Regions from separate parts of the Homo sapiens genome. Here region 1 is linked to region 2. The links are contacts of gene promoters, found by promoter capture Hi-C in blood cells and fetal thymus (Javierre and others, 2016). All regions are on one chromosome and are shown on one strand. Each heading gives the region's core, a stretch centred on a gene start or on the middle of the fragment in contact. The rest is flanking DNA. Distances are from core to core; before and after follow the strand shown.

Region 1 (4,313 bases), core at 1,480-3,979, 570 kb after region 2:
GGGCAGCAGAAGGAATTGATCTTTTCTCTGAGTGAAACAGAGAATGTCCTGGGGGACGAGGGGCACTGGGACCAGCCACAGATGTCCCAGCTCTGTCTCATGTCAGACACAGGATAGATTGCACTATCCTCCCCACTCAAAGGCCAACAAAATGTCGCAAGGGTGATGTCCCTTGAGTAGACACTTTCAGAGCCAGGACAGCTCAGCCACGCCCTCTCTTCCTCTGGCATGGTGACCAGCTGGCGCCCAGGGCCCCGAGCCCCCTGGCACACAGTGGGTGCCCAGCACGAAGGAGAACAGAGCCTTTGTTGTTTCCAGCCACAGAGATGGGGTTTTTTGTTACTGCAGCGAAACCAGCCTGACTCTGATATGGGGGCGGAGACAGAGGGACAGCTAGGGGACTATAGCGATAATCCCAGTGACAGACAACGCAGCTGAGGCCAGAAAAGGAGCAGAAGAGGTGCTGAGAAGCAGTCGGGGTTAGGAATATTCTGAAGGGAAAGCTGGGAGGGGGTGGGTATGGGGTGTGAGGGGAAAAGGTGAGTCAGGGATGACTGCAAGGTTTGGGCTTGAACAACTAGAGAAATGGAGTCTCCACCAGCTGAGATTGGGAGGGGATCAGGGGTTCAGTTGTGAACACGTTTGGTACGTCTCATTAACCTGAAGCCTGAAATATTCACGAGGTGGCAGGGGCAGGTGTCCCATGAATGAATGTGGGGACCAGGGGAGGTTTCCAGGTGGGAGACATCAACGTGGGGGTGGGTGGTCAGTATCGAGATGGGACTTAAATCCCTGAGCTGAATGAGATCACTGAGGGAATGCATGTCCACAGAAGAAAGGCCAGGTTCAAGGACAATCCTGGGATTCCAGAAAGTTAGCATCATCTGGGTCACACAAGCATTTGGTAAGTTACATGGTTCCACGGTGGGAGAGAGGACGCTGGTCTTTGGTCCATCTGGGCTGCCCAGGAGTGGCTCTCGTTGGCCACGTGAAGGTGGGCTCCATCCTGCTATGCCAGGATGCACAGGGATCCTAAGAAGTGAGCCCCACCCCAAAACTGTCTCCTTCTCTCTCCCCTACTTCTCAGAGACCTGCTACTTTCCTGGGTGCTCTGGAGGAACACCGCAAGGGTCTTTCCCACTCTTGGAATGTCCCCTCTTTTAAATAGAGCCTCCATCTTGTCTGCCAGGTCTGGCCACATTTAGTTAGGCCACTCCTTCCCAGGCCCTGTTGCAAACCCTAGAGCTTCCTCTAACCCTTGAGAAATTTCAACCCTTTTCTAAAAGTGGAGTGTCTGTTTTGTTTGTTTGTTTGTTTGTTTGAGACACAGTCTCGCTTTGTCACCAGGCTGGAGTACAGTGGCATGATCTCGGCTCACTGCAACCTCCGCCTCCCAAGTTCAAGAGATTCTCCTGCCTCAGCCTCCCAAGTAGCTGGGACTACAGGTGAGCACCACCACGTCCGGCTAATTTTTGTATTTTTAGTAGAGACGGGGTTTCACCATGTTGGCCAAGATGGTCTCAATCTCTTGACCTCATGATCCGCCCACATCAGCCTCCCAAAGTGCTGGGATTATAGGTGTGAGCCACCACGCCCAGCCAAGAAAAGTGTCTTAACCCTTCCCTGGGGCCAGAGCAGCTTGGTCCTCTTATCTCTCTTATCTCAAGGTATCACTTGCCCTCTGGAAGGAGAAGTAGGAAACAGAAAAAAAAAAAAATAGCTCTCGTTTTCTTTGGATTCTTCTAGAACAGCAAAGAACACAGAATATTATCACAGTATATTAACCTTCTACACATGTTTATCAACTTAGTTCAAACCATGAAAAATTAGTATCCTTCAAGGAACAAATAATCCTTCCACTAAATCAACTATTAGAAATATATATAAAATGGGGGACACAATGGGAGTATGACACGATTAGAGTTTTGAATCAAACTAAGAACAGCGAAGCTTTAAAGATTAGTCATGAACATGGACCTTGGCTATCCTAACACAAATAAGAAAACTAGCCAAATCCAGAGAAGTCTGGGGTTTAATGAACAGTGCATTAGTCCATTCTCACACTGCTATGAAGAAATACCAAAGAGTGGGTCATTTATAAAGAAAAGAGGTTTAATTGACTCACAGTTCTGCATGGCTGGGGAGGCCTAAGGAAACTTACAATCATGGCAAAAGAAACCTCTTCACAGGGCAGCAGGAGAGAGAATGAGTGCTGAGTGGAAGAAGAAATCCCTGATAAAACCATCAGATCTCACAAGAAGTCACTCGCTCTCATGAGAACAGCATGGTGGAAACCACCTCTATGATCCAATTATCTCCACCTGGCCCCACCCTTGACATGTGGAGATTATTACAATTCAAGGTGAGAGTTGGGTGGGGGCACAGAGCTAAACTATATCAAACAGTAATATATCAGTGTTGGTTTCTTAGCTTTGGCAAATGTACTGTGGTTATGTGAGATGTTAACAATAGGAGAAACCAGGTGAGAGGTATATGGGAACTCTGTACTATCAAAAATTATTCCAGAATTGGCTGGGCATGGCGGCTCACACCTGTAATCCCAGCACTTTCAGAGGCCGAGGCGGGCAGATCACCTGAGGTCAGGAGTTCAAGACCAGCCTGACCAACATGGTGAAACCTCGTCTCTACTAAAAATACAAAAATTAGCTGGGTGCAGTGGCACATGCCTGTAATCCCAGTTAGTTGGGAGGCTGAGGCAGGATACTCTCTTGAACCTGGGAGGTGGAGGTTGCAGTGAGCCGAGATCACACCATTGCACCCTAGCCTGGGCCCTGGGCGACAAGCGAGATTCTGTCTCAAAAAAATAAAAATTATTTCAGAATAAAAGGTTTATCTTAAAATTCCAAATACAAGCAGAGACTCTTGCCAGTTAAAAAAAAAAAAAAAAGGGTCTATAGCAACCAAGAAGAGTTTATCCCAAGACTATATCGGTGGCATTCAAGCAGGAAAATGATTTACATGATTTATCATATTAGCATGAGAAATAGCAAGGTCCATTTAATTATCTCAATAAATATCAAGGAGGCATTTGAAAAAAAGTCACTACAAATTTGTGGGACAGGTTTTATTCTAAATATGATAAAGATTATGGAATTTTATTTTTTATTTTTTGAGACAGGGTCTTGCTCTGTCACTCAGGCTGGAGTGCAGTGGCACAATCTTGGCTCACTGCAGCCTCTACCTCCCCAGGCTCAGGCAATCTTCCCACCTCAAGTCTCATGAGTAGCTGGGACTACAGGTGCACTCTACCACAGTCGGCTAAGTGTTTGCATTTTGTGTAGAGACAGGTTTTTGCCATGTTGCCCAAGCTGTTCTTAAACTCCTGGGCTTAAGCAATCCTCCCTCCTCAGCCTGCTAAAATGCTGAGATTACAGGCATGAGCCACTGCACCTGGCCAAGATTATGGATTTAAAACCAAAAGCCACCAGGCACAGTGGTGTGTGCCTGTAGTCCCAGCTACTCAGAAGGCTGAGGCAGGGAGATGAACTAAGCTTAGGAATTCAAGGCTGCACAGTGAGCTATGATCATGCATGTAGACAGCTACTGCAGTCCAGCCTGGGCAGCATAGCAAAACCCTAGCTCTTTAAAAAAAAAAAAAAAGGCCAATTATTGCTTAAGGAATAGAAAGTCATTAGCACTAAAAATCTGGACATGCTCTCGCTTGTCTGGTTACCACTCCTATTTTAATATAAAACTAAATTAAAACTAGAAACACTGGCAAAAGCTATCAATAAGAAAAAGAAATAACATGTAAATATAAGAATAGAAGACATTAAAATGTGAATTGTCTTTTAGCCATGATTATAAACCTAGGAAAGCAACCAAAAGTACCAGTAAATTACTTCCAGAAGATACATAAGAAGACATTTAATCAAGTGCATCTTACATGAATATAATGCAACTAGAAAATGCATGTAAAATAAAAGAGAATTCAAGAGCAATTTAAAAATCAAATAATTGTATATCCATTTAATTGGCGACATAAGATGCTTACCCAAAGGGCATTGTGAGACCCTAATAGGAGAAATAAAGGAAGATAAATAAAAAACAGAATTTTTCCCGCTCCTGTTAGGAAGAAGCAGCATAATAAAGATGAAAAATTTATCCCTGCCAGCTGGCAAGAGACAACTCTTAAATATTCAGAAAATTTGCCAGCCATTTGTTAAGTCATGTATAGCTTGAAAGTGGCCACAGTGGCCAGGCACAGTGGCTCACGCCTGTAATCCCAGCACTTTGGGAGGCCGAGGCGGGCAGATCACGAGGTCAAGAGATGGAGACCATCCTGGCCAACA
Region 2 (4,494 bases), core at 224-2,723:
GTATGTAGCTTTTTAAATCTTCGTAGCTATTTTATTAAAGAAGAAAAGGCGAGGCAGTTTGCCCAACGCAGTTCCCAGCTTGACTTTTCCCTTTGGCTTAGTGATTTTGGAGTCCTGAGATTTATTTTCCTTTCACAGTTATGATGGTAAATTTTATATTTATTTTAAACCCTCCCCCCTCCCCAAAAGAGGGGGAAAAAGTAAAGAGGTATGGCAGAAGGGGAAGTCACAGAGATTGGAAGCGTCTTGCAGCACCTTTTTTTTTGAGATGGAGTCTCGCTCTGTTGCCAGGCTGGAGTGCAGTGGCGCAATCTCAGCTCACTGCAATTTCCGCCTCCCGGGTTCAAGCGATTCCCCTGCCTCAGCCTCCGAGTAGCTGGGACTATAGACACGTGCCACCACGTCTGGCTAACTTTTTGTATTTCAGTAGAGACGGGGCTTCACCATGTTGGCCAGGATGGTCTCGATCTCCTGACCTCGTGATCCACCTGCCTCGGTCTCCCAAAGGGCTGGGATTACAGGCGTCTTGCTGCATCTCGAAGCGTCTTCAGCGTGCTCTTGCTTGCTGGCTCTGATGATGGAGGTGTTCAAGCCATCGTGGAAGGAATGCAGTGGCCTCTAGGAGTGAGAATGACACCAGCCAACATCCAGCAAGAAGACGTGGACTTCAGTCCTAGGCCCATGGAGACAATTCTGTTAACATCCTGGATGAGCCTGGAAGTGGGCTTTCCCCAGAGTCTGCAGATAAGAGCCCACGGCAGCTGACATTTTGACTCTAGCCTCGTGAGGCCCTGAGACAGGAGGTTTCCTGCCCCGCAGGACTGAAAGATGATGAATGGGAGTTATTTTATATTTTCAGATTGTGGTAATTAGTCACTGTAGCAATAGAAAACGAATACAAGGTCTTTATGCATTAATGTTGAAAACACTTTTTATATACGTTGTAAATATTTTTTAAGTGTGTCATATGTTTTTAAACTTTTCCCTTAATGATATTGAATCCTCCTAATTTCACCATCAGAGGGTAAACTCCAGTTCCATTCTGGGGGGAGTCCTTTGCAGTCACCCCGTGTACTCAATACTCACATGCATCAGAATCACCCCGAATGCTTGTTAAAACACAGATTCCTGGGTCCTCCCCGCAGAGTTGCTGATTTAGTAGGTTTAAGGGCCCAAGAATTTGCATTTCTAAAATGTTTCCAGGTGATGCTGAAGCTTCTGGCCGGAAAGACATCCTTTGAGAACATATTTCCTCCCCAGCCCTCGGCCCTTAAGCCCCAGAACGCTGCCCCGCCCTGGGTGGAACGAAGCTGAGCTCCACCCTAGAGGGGCGGGGCCCTTTAGCTCCGCCCCACTCAGGAGAACCCCACCCCTCCCTCCCCGTTCTCATTGGCTGGGACTGCAGGGATCCCCTGCGCCACAGTGCCGTGCGCGCGTCAGCAAAAACGCCAGGGACGGGGTCTCCGCGCCTGCGCAGTGAAGCTGGGCGCCTTCGGGGCTTGAGCTTCTGAGGGTCGGGTCCAGCGCGTGGGCTGCTGGATGGCGGAACCCCAGGCGGAGTCGGAGCCCCTGCTGGGCGGGGCCCGCGGCGGTGGCGGCGACTGGCCGGCGGGGCTGACCACTTACCGCAGCATCCAAGTCGGCCCTGGTGAGCCGCCCGGACCTGGGGAGGGGACTGGCCCGGGAGACCAGGGTCGCGCGTGGGGGTCCCGCTGTCCCAGCACCCCGCTTTCTGCCGGGCGCGCCCCCACCAGGTTCGAGTCCGAGCGGGGCCCGGGCCGCGCCGGGTGCCAGGCGAGCCGGTGTTCTGAGGGCGAGTGGGCTGCGTCCTGCGGACCCGGACCGGGGTCAGGGCAGAGCTGGGGTCTCTTCCGTGTCGCGTCCTGATCCCGACCAGCTGGGCGAAGAGGCCCTCGCCCAGCCTTGGGCAGCCCCGAGGGAACCGGCCACCTGCGGCAGGCACCCTCCGTGTGCCCGGGCGGGCCCAGACCCCATACTTCCCGACTGTCGCCGTAATGAGGGTCGCCTAATTGACTCAGAGAAGGCAGCACTTTGATTTTTCCCGTTTCTTCTGGAAAAAGCAGAGGCTCACAGAGAGGCGTTACCCTACCCAAGGTCACACACCCAGTAAGTGGCCGAGGTGGGATTCGAACCAGTTGGGAGCTAGGAGTCCTTTCTTTGTAGGGTGCCTTTCCCCGTCCCACTTCCCGTGGGGCTGGGGCGGGCCCCCTAGACGGGGGCGGCTTCCTCTCCTTGCCCTCTGCCACCCCAGAGTCCCCTCTGCACTCCCTCCTGCCCTTCCCGTTTTTTGTCCTGGTCTGAAGATTGCTGAATCCGCCCCCCGAGGGTGGGGTGCGTCCGCCCCTCGCTGACACCAGGGGAATGAGATTCTGGATTAAGAGGTGGAAGGACCTTAGCTTCACTTCACAGATGAGGAAACTGAGGCCCAGAGAGGCCCTGAGACCTGCCCAAGGTCACAGCCCTCTGTTCTGGTGCGGCTGCTGCTCGAACCACTCTGAGAATTCACACCTGGCTCCTTCCCTCTCTGGCCTCTCTTTCCTTCTTTCCTCCTCTGTCTGGAAGGAACTGGGTTGGAATCCTGGTGCCCACCCACTGGTCTGTGGCATGTGCCCATCCATGGAGTAATGAGGGGCCAAGGAGGGGACCCTGACGAGAGATGAAAAACCAGAGGCCAAGGTGGCCACCCTGTCTGCTCACCTCAGAAGCTGCCTCCAGGAAGTTCTTCAGGTGCTTCCTGGGACCAGTCAGGAAGGAGATCTGCAGGGAGCAGCTCTGGCAGGCCCCTTGATGAGACGCCCAGCATATGGCACCGTTCAGGGAACACAGACTTTGTGTCTAGGGGTCTGGGCGCCTTTCTGGGGCTGCACTGGCTGTGTGACCTTGGCAGGTTGCTTAACCTTTCTGTTTCTTTTTTGAGATGGAGTATCACTCTGTCACCCAGGCTGGAGTGCAGTGGCGTGATCTCGGCTCACTGCAGCCTCTACCTCTGCTGGGTTGAAGCGATTCTCCCGCCTCAGCCTCCCAAGTAGCTGGGACTGCAGGCGCCCGCCACCACACTTGGCTAATTTTTGTATTTTTAGTAGAGATGGGGTTTCACTGTGTTGGCCAGGGTGGTCTCAAACTCCTGACCTCGGGTGATCTGCCTGCCTCGGCCTCCCAAAGTGGTGGGATTACAGGCGTGAGCCACTGTGCCTGGCCATGCTTCACCTTTCCGAATCTCAGTAAAAGGGAGATAATACTAAGGACTGCCTGGCGGGCATTGTGAGGATTCAGAGAGAATCCAGAGTTTGTCCTCAGCACAGGGCCCGGCGGGCTGGTGTGGGGGCCAGTGGCCGTCCTGGGTAAGCTCTGTGATCATTGCAGGTCCTCCCTGGCAGGTGAGACCCGCTCTGCTGGGCAGTGTGGCTGACAAGAGGAGGCTCTCGGGGAGCGCTCTTTGTCCCTATGCTGTGGCCTCAGCCAGGGCTTCTGAGAACGTGGACAGGACGCTCTGTGTTCTGAATCCCCTTGGCCAGGGTCCCCAGCAAGGACTGGCAGACTATGGAGCCATGGAGACTCCGAAAGGCTCATTCAGTCTCTGTGCTGAGGCCTGTGCCAGGCTTTGAAATGAAGGCCCTGTGCTCTGGTTTGCAAGTCCTGTGGTTGGTCTCTTGCCAACGGGTTGTGGTGAGGGCTGCTGCTGTGGGTGCCCCAAGGACCCCAGTGGACCCTGCTGTTGGGTCGTTTTGACTTGGCCCCACCTGATGGGGCCGGGGTCAAAGGTTGAGAACAGTTGTTTTCTCTTGTTGCTGGGTCAGAAAAATCACACTTTTACTGGTTATCAAACAAGTCAGAGGACAAGGGATTGCGATGCTGTAGAGGCTTTCAGAGTAACTGAATGCTTATGAAGGGCTCACTTAGCAAAGTACTCTGGCTATAGTAAGTCATTCAGTCTGTACTTAGCTCCTATTGGGTGGGGGTCCATGAGGACCTGGAGCACCTAGAGGTTAAGGGACTTGCCCAGGGTCACAGAGGATGATGGTCAGGACCCTACACAGGTTGTGCAGCCTGGAGCCTGGAGCAACAGGGGAGCGGGAGCTCAGACCTGGATGTTGCGGGGCAGAGGCTTGGATTAGGAAGCCGTGTCGAGGCCTGGTGTGCCGGATGCAGCATCTCAGCCCCTGCTGTCCTCTGTGCCTTGCAGAACCCTTCAGCCCCAGTGGGTGATGGTGTGTGGAAAGGTGATTGTCCCCCAGGGTGATGAGCTCAGGGCGGGGCGAGCTGTCCCAAGGGAGTCCCTGGACTCACAAATTGGGGGATGGTGCTCCTGGCAGAAGCAGCAGCCTGAGTAAAGGGTTGGAGGCTTTGGAGAGCATGGCCTTGGCAGAGCCCAGTTCGGAATGAGTGGCACTGAGGGTTGAAAGGCAGGAGAGAGGCGGGCCGGCAAATGTGGGAACCTGCAGTGCCAGACCAGGGTGGAGTGTGGGCCTGGAA

The links. The method cuts DNA at HindIII sites, captures the fragments that hold promoters and counts their contacts. A CHiCAGO score of 5 or more calls a contact.
Region 1: a fragment that was not itself captured here is called in contact with the fragment with the promoter of TPCN2 in region 2 in 1 of 17 cell types (activated CD4 T cells); the score reaches 5.5 in activated CD4 T cells.

Annotation. Positions count from the first base shown.
Region 1 is chr11:69,617,590-69,621,902 of GRCh38, forward strand. No RefSeq gene overlaps it. Among named protein-coding and RNA genes, the nearest start is that of CCND1, 21 kb to the right of the region's middle. The HindIII fragment of the contact is 1,562 bases long and covers 1,949-3,510 here.
Region 2 is chr11:69,047,459-69,051,952 of GRCh38, forward strand. It overlaps TPCN2 (two pore segment channel 2), which reads left to right and starts at 1,474. Exons shown (of 25, transcript NM_139075.4): 1 at 1,474-1,648. The coding sequence starts at 1,540. RefSeq lists silencers at 1,212-1,431, 1,552-1,721, 1,802-1,901 and an enhancer at 3,878-4,452. The HindIII fragment of the contact is 3,554 bases long and covers 1,214-4,494 here.